Linked DNA regions of Homo sapiens: all the other regions are linked to region 4. The links are contacts of gene promoters, found by promoter capture Hi-C in blood cells and fetal thymus (Javierre and others, 2016). All regions are on one chromosome and are shown on one strand. The core of a region is centred on a gene start or on the middle of the fragment in contact, and the rest is flanking DNA. Distances in the headings are between cores, read along the strand shown.

What was found. The method cuts DNA at HindIII sites, captures the fragments that hold promoters and counts their contacts. A CHiCAGO score of 5 or more calls a contact.
Region 1: a fragment that was not itself captured here is called in contact with the fragment with the promoter of NUAK1 in region 4 in 3 of 17 cell types (M0 macrophages, endothelial precursors and M2 macrophages); the score reaches 7.9 in M0 macrophages.
Region 2: a contact is called between a fragment that was not itself captured here and the fragment with the promoter of NUAK1 in region 4, in 2 of 17 cell types (M2 macrophages and endothelial precursors). The highest score is 6.7, in M2 macrophages.
Region 3: a fragment that was not itself captured here is called in contact with the fragment with the promoter of NUAK1 in region 4 in 4 of 17 cell types (M1 macrophages, M2 macrophages, M0 macrophages and 1 more); the score reaches 10.1 in M1 macrophages.
Region 5: a fragment that was not itself captured here is called in contact with the fragment with the promoter of NUAK1 in region 4 in 8 of 17 cell types (M2 macrophages, M0 macrophages, M1 macrophages and 5 more); the score reaches 39.4 in M2 macrophages.
Region 6: a contact is called between a fragment that was not itself captured here and the fragment with the promoter of NUAK1 in region 4, in 1 of 17 cell types (endothelial precursors). The highest score is 7.0, in endothelial precursors.

Annotation. Positions count from the first base shown.
Region 1 is chr12:105,769,086-105,771,954 of GRCh38, forward strand. No RefSeq gene overlaps it. Among named protein-coding and RNA genes, the nearest start is that of CASC18, 66 kb to the left of the region's middle. The HindIII fragment of the contact is 950 bases long and covers 996-1,945 here.
Region 2 is chr12:105,724,448-105,727,147 of GRCh38, forward strand. The region is part of intron 3 of CASC18 (cancer susceptibility 18); the gene reads left to right. Among named protein-coding and RNA genes, the nearest start is that of CASC18, 22 kb to the left of the region's middle. The HindIII fragment of the contact is 4,140 bases long and covers 1-2,700 here.
Region 3 is chr12:105,689,521-105,692,250 of GRCh38, forward strand. No RefSeq gene overlaps it. Among named protein-coding and RNA genes, the nearest start is that of CASC18, 13 kb to the right of the region's middle. The HindIII fragment of the contact is 1,556 bases long and covers 476-2,031 here.
Region 4 is chr12:106,137,579-106,140,278 of GRCh38, forward strand. It overlaps NUAK1 (NUAK family kinase 1), which reads right to left and starts at 1,376. Exons shown (of 7, transcript NM_014840.3): 1 at 836-1,376. The coding sequence starts at 1,075. RefSeq lists enhancers at 1-306, 2,698-2,700. The HindIII fragment of the contact is 5,150 bases long and covers 1-2,700 here.
Region 5 is chr12:105,705,951-105,708,650 of GRCh38, forward strand. The region is part of intron 1 of CASC18 (cancer susceptibility 18); the gene reads left to right. LOC105369959 (a long non-coding RNA gene) reads right to left here and starts at 2,077. Exons shown (of 3, transcript XR_945309.3): 1 at 2,000-2,077; 2 at 815-886. The HindIII fragment of the contact is 4,284 bases long and covers 1-2,700 here.
Region 6 is chr12:105,748,895-105,751,790 of GRCh38, forward strand. All of the region lies in intron 2 of LOC107984435 (a long non-coding RNA gene), which reads right to left. Among named protein-coding and RNA genes, the nearest start is that of CASC18, 46 kb to the left of the region's middle. The HindIII fragment of the contact is 513 bases long and covers 1,234-1,746 here.

The DNA of each region.
Region 1 (2,869 bases), core at 221-2,720, 370 kb before region 4:
ATCATGGTATTAGCAGTTTCTATTAGAATAAAAGGGAAGCAGTTAAGTTAATTTGCTCATAGGTAGTCATTCAACAAACTCTTTAGCATCTACTATGAGCGGAGCACTTGTAAGCATTTCAGACATTGAATTGGAATTTTGCAATAACTTAGTGAAGAAGGCGAATTACCGTGCCCAGTGTTCTGATGTGCACGCTAAAAACCAGAGACACAAAGTTAGACAGCCGAGGTCATAGATTAGCTACTGAAATAATCAGGGTTAGAATGTAGACTATTCTGTGGTGCTCTTTTAAAAAGTATTAACTTCTATAAAATGTAAAATTAATTTGTCTGCCAAGGAAATTAAAGCCAAATCAAAGAGTAAATGAGTATTCTCCCTTTTCTACCTCTCCTTCTTCTGCTACAGTTTCTAGAGTAGAAAATAAGAAATATAAAGATGAAAATTTCATACGTTTTAGGAGATTGCCTTGTAATTGAATTAAAAGTAAATTAATTGACCTGAGCCTTGCCCTTGAGGCCAAGCCACTGACTGCTCATTGAATATGCATGAGCTCACCCACTTCATCACTGCCTTGCAAGTCAGGCAAAGCCATATGACTTTTTCTGGCCAGTGGACTATAAACAAAAGTAACAGTGTATCATTTTCAGGCTGAGGTATTGAGAAGCTCCTTTATAATTCTCTGGCTCTATCTTTCCTAAACTCAGTGACCTTAGGAGCCATGTGTTAAGCTACTGGAATCACACGATAAAAGCATATTGGCTCCCTGAACCACCACCTGGGAAGGAGTTTCCCTGGAGAGTCATGAGACTTGGCAAAGAACTTTATGTGACCAAAATAAATGTTCATGTGAAAGTCACTGCAGTCTGGGAGTGTGTTACTGCAGCATAACTTAACATCACCCTGACTACTAGACTCATACCTACAATATTTTTCTCCTTCTGGTTTGGTTCTTCCCTGTCTTTTGACCCTCAGTGACTATAATTAACATATATAAAAGCTTTCAAAACCCCTCCTTAAGCTGCTTTTTGTTTCTCCTGAAACCTCCAACAATCCTGTCAGACTCTGCTATTTTCAAAGGCTGAGGCCTCAAGTCTGATTTTACATGAAAGACATGCAAGCATGACCCAAAAGATGAAAAACCTTAAGAACATCCAAGAGTCAGGGGCTTTGCTAATCACTGGGCTTTGCTAATATAAACGAATTTAGGAAAAAAGGTGATGAGCACTGAAATGATAAGCAGATGATTGTCTATCTTACTAACCCAGATAGTTGTTTTCAGGAAAATTTTAAAAGGGAAATGTTTCAGCTACTTGTATTTTGTTTTGTTTTATTTGTTTTTTTAGCCAGAACGGTGAAGGAAAAACTGAGAACCCCCCTGCATGACCATACATCTCACATTTAAATAGCAATTTAAACAGTTATTTTTGAAAACAAGATGACATGAGGTGTGATTATCACATAAGTAATGAAACTGACTTATCCCAAAAACGTATAGACAGCATGAATTTTCATAAGGAAAGTGGTCCTTTTCAGAGGCTGAGGACTTTGGTCAAAGAAGTTCTTCCAAATAGTTAGCATCTATGATAACTGCTCTCATTCCTGGATCTGTGTATTAATTGTAGCAAATTTTGGGTGGTGTCTTAGCTCAGGCTGCTGCAGCAAAATACCACACACTGGGCAACTTAAACAACACTTGTTTTTTCATAGTTCTGGAGGCTGGAAGTCCGTGATCAGGGTACTGAAAGTCCATGATCTGGAAGCCAGCATGATAAGGTTCTGGTGAGGGCTCCCTTCTTGGTTTGTAGATGGCTGCCATCATGCTGTGTACTCACATGACCCCTTCTTCGTGTGTGCATGGAGACAGAGAAAAAATAAGCTCTCTGGTGCCTCTTCTTGCAAAGGCACTAATCCCATCATAAGGATTCCACCCTTGTGACCTCATCTAAGCTTAATTACCTCCCAGAAGTCCCATCTCCAAATATCACATTTGGGGTTAGGGCTTCAACATAAGAATCATGAATTTGGGGTGGGGAGAGGGACACAGCTGAGTCCATAGCAGGTGGGAAACATGGACTTAAGGATCAGAACTGCCTCTTGCTACCAAAAGCTTCCCAAGAGCAAGTAAGCTCACTTCCGTGAGCAGACAAAGGCTCCTGAAATAACACAGGTGAAAGGTAAGTGGTTCTGAATTGGTATGATCACAGTAAAAGAGGAGATGGGTTTCAGATGGAATATTCATGGCTTGCAGACAAAGTGAAAAATGTTTAACATGACCACCCATGTTGGAAGTCTGGTGCCTGGGAGAAGGTTGGTGCCGTTTACCCAAACTGGAAAGCCAGGAGAAAGAAGCAGTTTGGGGAGAAGGAGGAAAAGGACTTTGGCAACATGCCCACCTTGGGATCATCTTGAGTTTGTGTGGGAATGTTCCAATGTAAGGGAAATATAAAAATGCCACTTATAAGGAAGACTGCATCCAGGCGTGATAATTTATGCTTGTAATCCCAACACTTTGGGAGGCTGAGGCAGGAAGATCACTTGAGCCTAGGAGTTCGAGACCAGCCTGGGCAACATAGAGAGACTTCATCTCTATTTAAAAAAAAAAAAAGAATTAAAAAAAATTAAAAAAGAAAAATATAGAGAAAAAGAAGTCTGTGTCAGCCAGGCTTGGGGAGGATGGGTAGAAATACAGTCTGCACGTGACTAATTTCATGAGTGGTCGCTTCACCACTAAGCTAAAATTCTCTATGGTGGACAAAATTCTTATACCAGCAATGATTTCTGGGCATTAAAGCTTTGTGAGACTTACAGCAACTAGACACTTGTAGGCACAGTGGGCTAATTGCCCTTCCATGGCAAAGACAGCTGAAGC
Region 2 (2,700 bases), core at 95-2,594, 410 kb before region 4:
AGTATCATCCAAATTCATATTTAGCCATACTCTGGTTAAGATGATTATAATAAAAAATACTATGCCCTCAAGTTAATGAAAAATACTATGCCCTGAGAGAAATCGGAGCCTTTGACAAGACTCCTTTATTCAGTGACACTTTTGGACTTATTACTGGTAGTGCACAAGGGAAAGAAGTTGCTATGGCTTCATTGTTAGATGAATCTATTGATATGCAGAGTGTGAACCAGCTCCTAGCCTTTATGCAGGACACGTATGAGGGGAAAGTGCAAGAGAACATCTTGTTTCATTTAATTACTTAAAGCCCCTGTCACAGGAGAGGGCATTTCCATGCAGTTAACAGTTATTCTGTGATTCATGCGCTGGCTGCAAGAGGTGGCTAGACTCAGTAGTGAAGCATATCTACACAAATAAAAGAGCTGCACTGAATGCCAGGTCACACACTGCTTAATCCAAAGAGAACTGGCAGACACAACTCCAAGGAACACTATTGGCTTTGTGCTCCAGGGAAATACAACGTCTGTATGACCACTCAAAGTTATACAACAAGGTGGCCCCGACTCTGCCTCCTGCTCTTGATTCAGGGTTGAAAGAATTGGTGAAAATCACAAGTCCCAACAATTCCATCTAATGAGTATATGTCTTTTCTAGCTCTTTGTTATTAACTAAGCAGTGAGTAATAAATAACATTTTGCTTTCTGGCACTAGAGTATGCTAGCTTTTGAGGGAGAATGTGTTCTTACAATTTTTTTTTTTCAAATGAAGGATGAGGGAAAAAAACCCACATTTTTCTATGACATTATAATACCTTCTAAAAAATTCATTTTAAGTGGTTTGCTCAAGCAGACTGTCTCAATATACATACTCCAGTTTCAAAATGCTATGACTATAAATGTCAAGAATTAGATAAGATATTAGGATTACTTAAGAAAACCAAAGTGGAACAAACACTTCCATTACTGGGAATTTGATTCATTTCCAATGCTTGCTAATTTTCTTTGCTTGTTGAAAATAATCACTGATGCTATATTATTGGCCGTGTTTTAAAACCACATCCAAATGCTCCAACATGCCATGAAGAAATACTTTTGGGAACAGAAGGCAACAAATGGATCTATTAGGAATTCACTGACCATCATCTCCCAAGTTGAAAAGTATAGTTTCTAGCTTTTGGATAAGATTTGTTTAACAACTAGATATCCAAACTATTATGTGCCTGTTGCCATCCCCAACCACTTTCCTCTATGCTCAAACATGTTAAACATGTATAAATACAGGTACATATGTTCTTGCTTTGCTCATTTTTTTCTTAACAAAAGAAGATATTATACCATGCATTTTACTCTGCAACTTGCTTTTTAATCGCTCCAAATTATAGCATGGGTAACTCTCCACACCAGTAGATTAAAAAATGTATTTAGAACAATCTAATGTTGTAAATGAAATAATGTAATCAAAAAGAGACCAGCTGAATGTGGGAGTTATCTCAAATGGAGAACAATTGCAAATGAATCCCTCATTAATATGACAAAACCCTGTTATCAAGCCTGAAATTTTATGTTAACAGCTCATCATTTAAAAACTACGATATGTCGGCCGGGCGCAGTGGCTCACGCCTGTAATCCCAGCACTTTGGGAGGCTGAGGCGGGAGGATCACAAGGTCAGGAGATCAAGACCATCCTGGCTAACACGGTGAAACCCCGTCTCTGCTAAAAATACAGAAACAAAATTAGCCGGGCATGGTGGCGGGCACCTGTAGTCCCAGCTACTTGGGAGGCTGAGACGGGAGAATGGCGTGAACTCGGGAGGTGGAGCTGGCAGTGAGCCGAGATTGCGCCACTACACTCCAGCCTTGGCGACAGAGTGAGACTCCGTCTCAAAAAAAAAAAAAAACAAAAAAACAAAAAAAAAAAAACCCAAAACTACGGTGTGTCTTTTGAACAGTTATTGAGGCATAATTGACATATAATAAACTGCAAATATTTAAAGTATATAATTTGATAAGTTTGGGCATAGAAATATACCTGTGAAGCCATTGCTACAATCAAGATAATGAACATATCTATCAACCCAAAAAATTTGCTCATGTGTAATCGTTCATGTACAAGTTCTTTCTCCAGCCCCACTTGGTTTCTCATCTCTAGCAAGCTACTGATTTTCTTTCTGTCATTATAGATTACTTTGCATTTTCTAGATTTTTATGTAAATAAAATCATAGCATGTACTCTTTTTTGGTTTGGATTTTCTCCAGTGTAACTATTTTGTATTGTATGTGTCCTTTTTTATTGTTAAGGAGTGTCCCTTTATATGTATATACAGTCAGCCCCCTCGGTATTGGCAGCTTCTGCATCCTTGGATTCAACCAACTGCGATAAAAAATATTCAGGAAAAAAAGAACAATAGAAAATAACAATACAGCAATGAAAAATAATGCAAATTAAAAATACCGTAAAACAACTATTTATGTAGCATTTATATTATATTAAGTATTGTAAGTAGACAGGACTTAAAGTATACGAGAGGATGCCTGTAGGTTATGTGCAAATACTAGACCATTTCATGTAAGGGACCTGAGCATCCGCAGATTTTGGTATCCGAGGGAGGTCCTGCAACCAATCCCTCATAGATACTGAGGGACTACTGTATTACAATGTATATACCCAGTTACTGATGGACATTTGAGTTACTTCCAGTTTGGG
Region 3 (2,730 bases), core at 4-2,503, 450 kb before region 4:
CAAAGTGGCCTTGGATCTAACTATTACTGAGGACTTCTTCTGTGCCCAGATCATGCCAGGACTCTGAGTCTTAGTCTCCTTTTTGCATATCTGGGACGTGCTTTTGATACCTACTGCCTACAAGGAGCTGTTGGATAATAAAGCAAGTGCCAGAAGACTCCAGTTGAACCCTGAATTTATCACTTACTTGCTACTTGAACATGTTGAGACTGAATTTGCTCATTCCCCTATGGATATCACAATACCTCCTATACTTCCCAGAGTTATTGTAGGGATCTAATAACATAATGAAATATAAATGTTAAAACACTAGAGTAAGGTCAGATATGGTTGTTATTGTAGAATCCGAGAGGAATCTCTATTCCAACAAGAAAATTGTGTAGACACTGCTCATTGTCACCCAATATCTATTCTTTCTGTGTCTCTAAATAACATACGTCTTATATTTGAGTCAGTTTACCCAGAGTAACATTAAAGCTTCCAATCTCTCTTCTAACTAAGCATGACCAATGGGACTTAAGCAGAAGAGATGTGTGCAACATCTCACAAGTATTCCTCAAAATGAAAGAATATTACCTTCTCCTTCCTTTTTCTTTTTTCATTTTGAATGGAATTTGGACAAAACCACCGGTGCTACAGCAGTCATCTAGAATAAGGAAGATGAGAGCCATACTGTAAGAATCTCAGAGTGAGTGGAAAAAGCCTAGGTTCCTGATAGGTTCATGAAATTATAACACTAGACTTGTATGGTTGATCTGGAATGTTTGCATGAGGAAATAAACCCTGCATGTTCAAACTACTAGGTTGGGTTTTCTCTTTCTTATAATTAAACCCAATCTAAACAATACAAATGCACACTCCAGTAAAAAGTATGGGTTTCAAATCAATTGCCTGTGATAGAAATGAACATTATTAGCATCTTAACAGCCCTGGCAAGATTCATATCCTGATGAAAATTCTTATTCTCATGGGAGCTTTACCTGCCAGAACTCACAAACTCTTTTTGCTAAAAAAAAAAAATACTTTTATGGATTCTGGGATACAAGTGCAGTTGTGTTACATGGATATATTGTCTAGTGGTGAAGTCTGGGCTTTTAGTGTAACCCAAATAGTGTACACTGTACCCAATAGGTAGTATTTCATTCCTCATCCCCCTTCCACTTTCCCATCTTTTGCAGTCTTCAGTGTGTATTGTTTCACTCTGTATGTCTGTGTTTACTCATTATTTAGCTTGCATTTGTAAATGAGAGCATGCAATTTTTGACTTTCTGTTTCTGAGTCATGTCACTAAGGATAATGGCCTCCAGTTTCATCCATGTTGCTGCGAAAGACATGATTTCATTTATTTATTTATTTATTTTTTGAGATGGAGTCTCTCTCTGTCACCAGGCTGGAGTGCAGTGGTGTAATCTCGGCTCACTGCAACCTCTGCCTCCCGGGTTCAAGTGATTCTCCTGCCTCAGCCTCCTGAGTAGCTGGGACTACAGGCGCCCGCCACCATGCCCAGCTAATTTTTGTACTTTCAGTAGAGATGGGGTTTCACCATGTTGGCCAGGATGGTCTCAATCTCTTGACCTCATGATCCACCCGTCTCAGCCTCCCAAAGTGCTGGGATTACAGGCATGAGCCACCACCCAGCCAATTTCATTCATTTTTATGGCTGAGTAGTATTCCATGGTGTGTGTGTGTGTGTGTGTGTGTGTGTGTGTGTGTGTGTGTATGATATAAGATATATTATATATATATATATCATACACACACACACATATATGTATGTCTCACAGTTTTTTATCCAATCATCCATTGATAAACACTTAGGTTGATTCCAGGATTTTGCCATTGTGACTAGTGCTGTCATAAATGTATGAGTGCAGGTGTCTTTTCTGATAAAACGATTTCTTTTCCTTTGGGTAGATACCCAGTAGCAGGATTGATGGATTGAAGAGTAGTTCTATTTTTAGTTCTTAGACAAATTTCCATATTGTTTTTTATAGATGTTGTACTAATTTACACTTCCACCACCAATGCATAAGCTTCCTTTTTCCCCTTGCCAACATCTGTTGCTTTTGGACTTTTTACTAATAGCCATCCTGACTGGTGTGAGATGGTTTCTCATTGTAATTTTGATTTGCATTTCTTTGATGATTAGTGATGTTGAGCATTTTTCATTTGTTTGCTGGCCACTTGTATGTCTTCTTTTGAAAAGTCTCTGTTCATGTTCTTCGCCCACTTTTTAATGGGGTTATTTGTTGTTGTTGTTGTTTTTCTTGTTGAGTTGTTTGAGTTCCTCGTGGATTCTGGATATTATCCCTTGCAAAACTGCACATATTTTCTCACATTCTGTAGGTTGTCTGTTTACTCTGTTGATTATTTCTTTTGCTTTGCAAAAGCTTTTTAGTTTAATTAAGTCCCATTTGTCTCATTTTGATCGTCTTGCATTCCTTTTGAGGACTTAGTAATAAATTCTTAGTAATAAATTCTGGACATTCTTCAGTGTCCAGAAGAATTTTTCCTGGGTTTTCTTCTAGGGTTTTTATAGTTTCAGGCCTTATGTTTAATTCTTTAATCTATCTTGACTTATTTTTGGCATATGGTGACAGATAGGGGCCCAGTTTCATTCTTTAGCATATGGTTCTTCAATTTTCCCAGCACCATTTATTGAATAAGGTGTTTTTTCCGATTTTATATTTTTGTCAACTTTTTCAAAGATTGGTTGGTTGTAGATATGTG
Region 4 (2,700 bases), core at 126-2,625:
AGACAGACCCCAAGGCACTCAAAGCACTCCTTGGAGCTGTGCAAATGGTGCCAGGACCCTGGCAGGGTGTCAGCTGTCACAAGAGCAGCGGGGCCAGACCCCTTCAGCGGTTTGGTAGCCCTGCAACCAGGAGCTGAAACACAACTGAGCCTGCTGCAACTAAGCACAGCTATCTCTGTAGCTACCCATGCCCTGGACATTTCGGTCCTCCCAAAGCCATGATGCAAACTGTTAGAATCCTCAGGCTTGCAGTAGTCTTTATTTTTGCTCCCTAACCTTGTCTCAAAAACAGGCAAGAGTCGCCCTCCCTTGCAGTCACAGCAGTATCAGGGCGATGCAGAGTCTGAGTGGGAGGATGCAGAGCAAGGAGCTGCGGGCAGATGGGTGGAAGGGGGTAGGGACACCTACAAAACACCGGACTTGAGGGGCTAGCTCCTAGCTGGGAATGTGGTTCTTTGGAGAGTTGTGGAAATAAGACGTTTCGGGGCATGGTCTAAATGAGTGCCTGCGAGGGAGAGAGACCCCGGCCGTCCCAACGCTGCAAAGTGTTTGCAAATCTAAAACATTCCTTTGCTGCTAGGATTAAATTTTTAAAAACAAACCAAAAAATAAAATAAAATATGTGCAGACAGGATGTAACAAGTGTTTCAGGACAGAGACACGCCTGAGTCACGGGGTGCTGGAGAAAGAGTGAGGAGTCTGTCTCGGGGCTTCCCAATGAGCCCCCTCTCTGTCAAGAGAGCCCCAGGGCGCACAGACCCCCGCCTCGCACGCCCTCAGTCCCCGGCCGCGTCCACCCAGCGCCCCCCGCACCCTCCAGGATTGCCCCACTCACCACTCGGCCAGAAAACCTCTCGGTGGCCCGCTTGACTTTGCCGTAGGTGCCTTTGCCCAGGGTCTCCTGCAGCTCGTAGCGGTGCTTCAAGTTGTGCTTGTGGTGATGCCGCTTCACCCCGTGCGGCTTCCTGGGCTCCAGGGCTGCAGTCGCCCCCGCCACCGCCTCTCGGGGAGAGCCCGGCGCCCCCAGCCCCAAGTCGGGGCGGTCCCCCGCCACAGGCGCGGCGGCCCCTTCCATGTCCAAGCGCGGGGCGAGCCGGGCTACAGAGGGCAAGACCGGGCACAGCGCTGGGATGTCGGGGTCCCCACCGAGGGAAGCCGCTGTACGCTCAAGGTCGCCCCCGCAGCATCAGGGAGGCGGCCCGATACCGCTCGGACTGCGGCTCGGTCACTGGCGGCGGCGGGGACTGCACATCTGGCGCCCGCGGCGCGCACGGTCCGCGCACCGCCCCCCGGCCGCGGCGAGCTGTGGAGCGTCGGGCGAGGTGGCGGCGGTGGCAGGGGAGGCGGTGGTGTTTGCAGGAGGGAGGGGAGAGGGTGGCTCGCAGCGCAGGAGGGGGAGTGTTATGTGGGGCGCCGCGCCCCCCAACCCCTCCCCGGGAGGACGCGCAGACGGGGCGGGGGCGGCGCTCGCGCGGCCCCAGGGGAGGGGGAGCGAGGGGCGGTGCAGCCAGGGCTTCCCCCACCTCCCTGCAGCCACCCGGGGCCGGGGCCGCCGTGAGCTGGGAGGGGGATGGGAGCGTGTCGCGACTCGCCCTTTGTGCGGCGCGGCGTAGGCCACGGCGGCGGCGGCGGCGGCGGCCAGGAGTGCTTTGTCCTCGCTGGGCCGGAAGGGACCGGGAAATTCCAAGCCGGGCGCCCCCTCCCCGGGCGCTCTCGGGCTCGCCAGTCGCAGCTACCGCGGGCCCTCCGCCGCCTCGGGCTCCGGGGCCGGTCGCTCGGCCTGGATTCCTGCTGGCGCCGGGGCGGCGGTTGCGGCTGGCCGAGCCCCGGGGCCGGGGAAGAAAGAGCGCCGCGAGCCGGGGGCCGCCGGGACCTGCTCGCGATACGGCCGGGGCCGCCGCGGGCCTGGGCGCCCCTTCATTTTCTTGTAGGTGTCGCCGCAGCCTGGCGGCCGGAGCTGGGGGAGGGGGCAGGGAGGCCTGGTGTTCGGTTACAGGCGGTGACTCACGGACCTTGCCCGCCCGAGGCTGGCACCCCGCGGGGCAGAGCTGCGCCCGCCTGGGGCAACTCCGAGTCCAGGAGAACCCCAAGAGCGGCGCTTTGGCCCCGGCCCCCGCGCCCTCTCCGAAGAAAGGAGAGTCAGGGACGGAGGGAGGCCGGGAGGCTGAACCCCGGGCCCGCCGTCGAACCGCCGGCCCTCCGACACCATCTGGACCCCGGCGGGGACAGCCGCCTGGAAGGGGAGGAAGGCCAGGGACGTGGAAGAGATGGGGCTCTAAAGGCGCCGGGACGGAGCTGGCTCCCCAGAGGCGCCCACCCTGCCAGCGAAGGCCGCCATCGGAGGTGGGCAAACCAGGGACCTGGGGTGGACCAGGACCCCGGGCCTGCTGAGCAACCCGTTTGCTGAGCAGGAGGCGATTTGCAGGCCTCTTGCCTCCTTAGGCCTTGGGAGATTTCCTTTCACTGAAAGGGCCAGATCCTGGCGATGGTGACAGGAACGGTACCCCGCACGGTAAGGGTCAGGCAGGAAGGGCCTCCCACCGCGGCGTGGCTGCCGCCGTTCTAAGAAGAGACCATGAAAAATAAGGAAGAAGGCTAGAGAAAAAGAGGTCTTAGGGAAATTTTTTTTTTTAACAAGTGGTGCAATGTACCAGACTAGGGTGGGAAGAGTGAAGGCTGAAGAAGGTCTGGTGTTCTGCA
Region 5 (2,700 bases), core at 145-2,644, 430 kb before region 4:
TAGTTTGAGTTTCCTTAGTCTAGAAGGACTCACAGAATTCCCAACTGTGCTTGCATGCCTGCTGTGCCCAGCGTGTGAGTGTGAGTGTATGTGTGTGTGTATGTGTGTGTGTGATGCACGCATGGAGGGGTTAGGGAGGATGCAGGAATAGAAGTTGATGAGGGACAAAGGGGAGGGAAAATTAAAATGATGAGCTTCAGAAGTCACCTTCTTTACAATTTGAGAGGCAATGTTCTGCTCCTATCTCTTGAAATGTCCTCTATCTCTTCCTTTCAAGGGAAAAAACACCAGTTCCCACCCAAGAGTTCTCCAGGACAAGGGAGGCCCTGGAGAAATGCAGTCAGAGGCAAATGGGAACAGATAGCTGCTTGTCAGCGCAGGTGCATCTCTTCCAGTCCACTTTGGCTGAGACTAACCTGACCTTGCTGAGCCCTGGCCTTGCCGTCAGCTTGCGCTGACAACAGGAGACCAGGCCACACTCTCCTAGCAGCTGCCCAGGCGAGGCTCATGCCCCAGAAAAAGCAGCTCCAGTTACACATTAGTCACAGAAATAACAATGATCAAAGGGAGCCAAAGGCATGAAATGGCTTCATTTTCCCAATTTAATTATGGGACTGGAGGATCCATTTCAATCTGGAAGGAGCCTGATTTCAACTTGTTATAAAATGGTTGGATAAAGTGCTGTATATTATTTTTTGTTTCTACCCTCATCCCTCCTCCCCATCTGCAATACAAGTTTTCATAGGCTTTTGAGTCCTTTTCAGCCCCTCCCTGTAGACGCACGATAAGAAACATAAATATGCCCCTTTCTTACTTGAGTCCTACTCGTGATGCTGATGCGCCCAATTAGAGTCTGTAGTTAAGGCCCCTGGGATTGTTCTGGGCCCTGGAAAAGAATGGCAGCAGGTGAGTGATGAGAGGTCCTCCCCCTCAGGGCAAGTGCAATGGCCTCATTGAGAAAGTATTCAGCCATCTGTAAAAAGGGGCCTATGGCAGTGGGGTCAGATGACAATGCCCCACATGCTTTAGTGGTTAAGATGCTTCAGTGCTCAGATGCTTTAGTGGCTACAAGTTTTTTACTGGGCTGAGAAAGATGTGGATCAAAGCTGTGTTCCAGGTACATGTGATGGGCTTTCTATCCCCTGCCACACACACCCACACACATGCACACACGTGCACACACACATATACACGTGGACCCTCTTGCCCCAAAGCCAGGCCTTGAGCTTTGAAAGGCTAGAGGCAAGAATTAGACCGGGGATGTGTATTTCTGTCCTTAGAAGTTGGCTGGCTGTTTTATACTTACTAAATGACAAAGTGTGATGAAATTGTTGCCTAGTAAGGACAAAGCCACAAGGTTTTTTTTTGTTTTGTTTTGTTTTGCAGAGGGGAGGGGAAGGGCAATGATGAGACAATTCTTTTTGGGTCAACCATCGTACATAGCACATAGAAGATTTGACTGGGACCACATAGTGAATGGCGTCCTTTAGAGCTTACATGGGCGCACAGAATCAGGCAGGGGCTAGAAGTCAGGGGTGCAGTTTCTAGACCAGCTCTGCCGCTGACTTGCCCTGTAAATTTGGGAGGGACTCCTCTCCACTCCGGGGTTCATGTTCTTCCTCTGGACTGGGCGATTTCTCTCTCTGCACCTTTTCGCTCCAAGGATCTACTAGTCCATGTCTCTCTGATGCTTAAACATCTGTGTGCAGCATTTTTAGGAGGCCTCTTTCCTCTGCAAAATAAGAGGCCTCTGCTCTTACATTACTTTGGGATATGTTTGGAATTTTACTTATTCTCCACAAGATTTAACTGTAGTACAAGGTGAGTCTTTTTCCTACTTCCCGGGAATTAACCTATGGCATAAATTACAGGCAGGAAATAGATGGAGCAGATAAACATGGAAGGCTTGCTTTCTTTTCCTCTTCGTCTTTCCTTGAACTTTTTTGCACATCCATATTAAAACCCGTTTCTGGCTTTCTCCCTTCACACTCCTACTTACGGGGTTTACAGAACGAGGATCTCTCGGCAAGATCAAACTTGGTCTCCCCTCATATAAAATTTGACTGAGCTCCTCCTCGTGAAATGGATTCACCTTTTGTACTGGGAAAAAAAAAAGGTTTTTAAAGTAGTTAAAGTAAAAAAAAAAAATAAGGACGGAATCTGCACGAGGCAAAATTACATTGATATCTTCTCTTAAACAAAGAGGATAGATTTCTTTACAAATTCTGTATGTCCAGATACCATTTAGAAGCAAACTCTGATTTCACATTGAGGCTGAAAATGTGTATACTCAAAGCTGATAAGAAGCCACACATAGAGTAATTTATGTCTTATATTTTATGTGATATACTTGACAACATAAATAATCACATAGGAAGGCCTCTGTTTAGCATTGGCAAATAAGAACACAGACTATTTATGTATGGGTGAAAGAGAGTGGAAAGAATTTTAACCTTGAAACTCCTTGTCTATTGACTATTTAGGATCCTAGTCTTTTTTTTTTTTTTTTTTGGAGATGGAATCTCACTCTGTTGCCCAGGTAGGAGTGCAGTGACGTGATCTTGGCTCACTGCAACCTCCACCACCTAGGTTCGAGTGATTCTCCTACCTCAGCCTCCCAATTCGCTGGGACTACAGGCATGCACCACCATGCTGGCTAATTTTTGTATTTTTAGCAGAGAGGGGGTTTCACCGTATTGG
Region 6 (2,896 bases), core at 240-2,739, 390 kb before region 4:
TCTAGACAGCCAGTTCAGGCCCAAGCAGATTTTTGCTTGCTTGAGTTATTTGGGTTGGCTTGGCCAGGCAGTCCTGGACTCCCTCCAAAATTCTTCCAGCCCCCGCTTTCCTTTCGTCTCAGAGACTTAACCTCCGAAGCTGGCAGGCCTCAGATGGGAACAACACAGGATTCTGCGAAGGGTGAAATGTGGGCTGCTCCTGTGAGCAAGCACAGGATAGAAATGCAGCTTTTCTCTTGTTCTCAAAATGAAACACCAAGGCCCTCCCATCTGCTCTGAGTCCAGAGATGAGGCTCAAACAGTTCTCCGGAATCAAAGCCACTATCAAAGGTGAGATATCAACACAGAGTTGGAGATATGTATGGGAATGGGAGCAAGTCGTCACCACTTGGAAACACTAATAGCAGGTCCACCCTGGGGTCATTCACATCTGGCTCCCACGTTACTCTCATGACTATACAGCAGAGGTGATGTGATTCATGCATTTATTATGATGCCCAGGCCCTCGTGAAAAGTCTGCCAGCTGAGCAGATGGAAAGCACCAAATTCATCTCAAATTCAGAGGTGGGAAGGAGATTTAATCATAGCAGCCCTCCTCTTCTCAATAGATCCCCTTTGAGAAGGAGCAGGGAGGAGCCAGGATCTCAACATTGCAGAACTAGAAATGAGAGGGCATGGATTTCAAGAGAAGACAGAAGCCATTGAGGTAGTAAAGAAAAGTGAGCATTTATTGAGGGCCTCACATGTGCTGAGCCTTGCGCTAAGTAAGCACATCATACACATGATTGTAGTTAGTCTCTCTCCCTTTCTCTCTTTCTCTCTCTGACTCGCTCTCTCTCTCTTTCTCTCTCTCCTTCTGTCTTTCTCTTTTGCATATATTATCCAGGTTTAGAGATGGGAAAATTGAGATTTAGAAAGGATAATTTTTTTGCCCAAGATCACTTGTGCAAAAAGAGGGTAAAAGAAATGAGGTTTGACCTAGGTGTAACTTACCCTAAGTTTGTGTTCTTATCCATGGCACTTAGAAAGCCTGACTCATTAGAAAACCATGAATTGTGACCCTTCTGGTCCTCATTACCAGGTCTGGCAATAGACATTTGGGGGTAAATGTACCCCCTGTTAAGTACTAGCATGGAAGATACAAAGATAAATAAAAATGGGCCCTCCTTCCTTATTATCACTTTGATTTTTTTTCTTTCTGTGCCTTTTATCACCACATTCAATTATCCAACAAGCTTCTTTCACAAAGTCATCCAGACTTTGACCTTCCTTTTGACTTCCCGAGTCACCAGGTGATGGGTCCTCATCACGTCTCCTCTGGGAGTGTCATGGCCTCAGCCACCTGGTGACCTTTCTGCCTTCAGTTTATTGGGATAACCTTTTGAACCATAACCTCTGCAATGTCACCTGATAGGCAGAAGCTGACATCTATTCCCTCTGCTATCATTGGGACACACAGGGAGAGAGGACAGGATTGGGAAATGAGTGGCTCAGAATCTGGCCTTGCTCTGCCATTAACTGCTGGGTGACTTTGACCAAGTCACTTCTCTTTTGGGGCCTCAGGTTTTCATCTGTAAAATGGAAGAATGGGATTTAGGGGTTTGAATTTCCTGGGAGTGTTTTATGGGCCTCTTTACAGGGTTTATTCATTCATTATTCATTAAGCCCCCAATATGTGCCAAGGATTGTTCTTAGCAACAGGGATTGAGCAGTGAATAAAAACAGAAAAAGCACCTGCTTTTGCTAAGCTTACTTACTTTCTAATCAGGGAGACCAGCCAGGGTGGTGGCTCACACCTGGAATCCCAGCACTTGGGGAGGCTGAGGCAGATGGATCACTTAAGGCCAGGAATCTGAGACCAGCCTGGTCTGGCTGGTACAAAAATAGAAAAATTAGCCAGGTATAGTGGTGCATGCCCATGGTCCCAGCTACTTGGAAGGCTCAGATGGAAGGATCACCTGAGTCCAGGAGGTCAAGGCTGCAGTGAGTCGTGATCATGCCACTGCCCTCCAGCCTGGGTAACATAGTAAGATTCTGTCTCAAAAATAGACAGAATGATAGATAGATAGATAGATAGATAGATAGATAGATAGATAGATAAAGGAGACCAACAGTAACACATAATCTATTTCAGGTAATTGTCAGTGCTGAGAAGAATAACAAACTGGATAAGGACACAGGGAGACAGGGTGCTATGCTAACTAGCTGGCCAGGGAAGGACTTATGGTGGTGTGACAAAGCCAGGCCTGAAGGCGGTGAGGGGCAGAGTCATGCAGGTGGGTAGGGTGGAATTCTCCAGGTAGAAGGAACAGCCTATGCGAAGGCCATCATGGGTGTGAGCATGGCATATGTAAGTAACAAGAAAGGGGCCAGGCGTGGTGGCTCATGCCTGTAATCCCAGCGCTTTGGGAGGCCGAGGCAGGTGGATCACCTGAAGTCAGGAGTTCAAGACCAGCCTGACCAACATGGAGAAACCCTGTCTCAACTAAAAATACAAAATTAGCCGGGCATGGTGGTGCATGCCTGTAATCCCAGCTACTCATGAAGGCTGAGGCAGGAGAATCGCTTGAACGCCGGAGGCAGAGGTTGCAGTGAGCCAAGATTGTGCCATTGCACTCCAGCCTGGGCAACAAGAGCAAAACTCTGTCTCAGAAAAAAAAAAAAAGTAACAAGAAAGGGACCAGTGAGGGAAGTGGAGTCACTTACAGCATGGCAGGGAATACTGTTAGAGACTTGATGAGGCACATGGTCATAGAGAGCTTGGAAACCCTGTAGGACTATTGGAACTCACCAGAGGGTTCGAAGGAAAGGAATGACAAGACCCAACTTAACATTTAAAAATGTAGCAATCGAGTGTAGATTATCAAGAGGGAATTAGGGAGATCAGTTAGAAAAC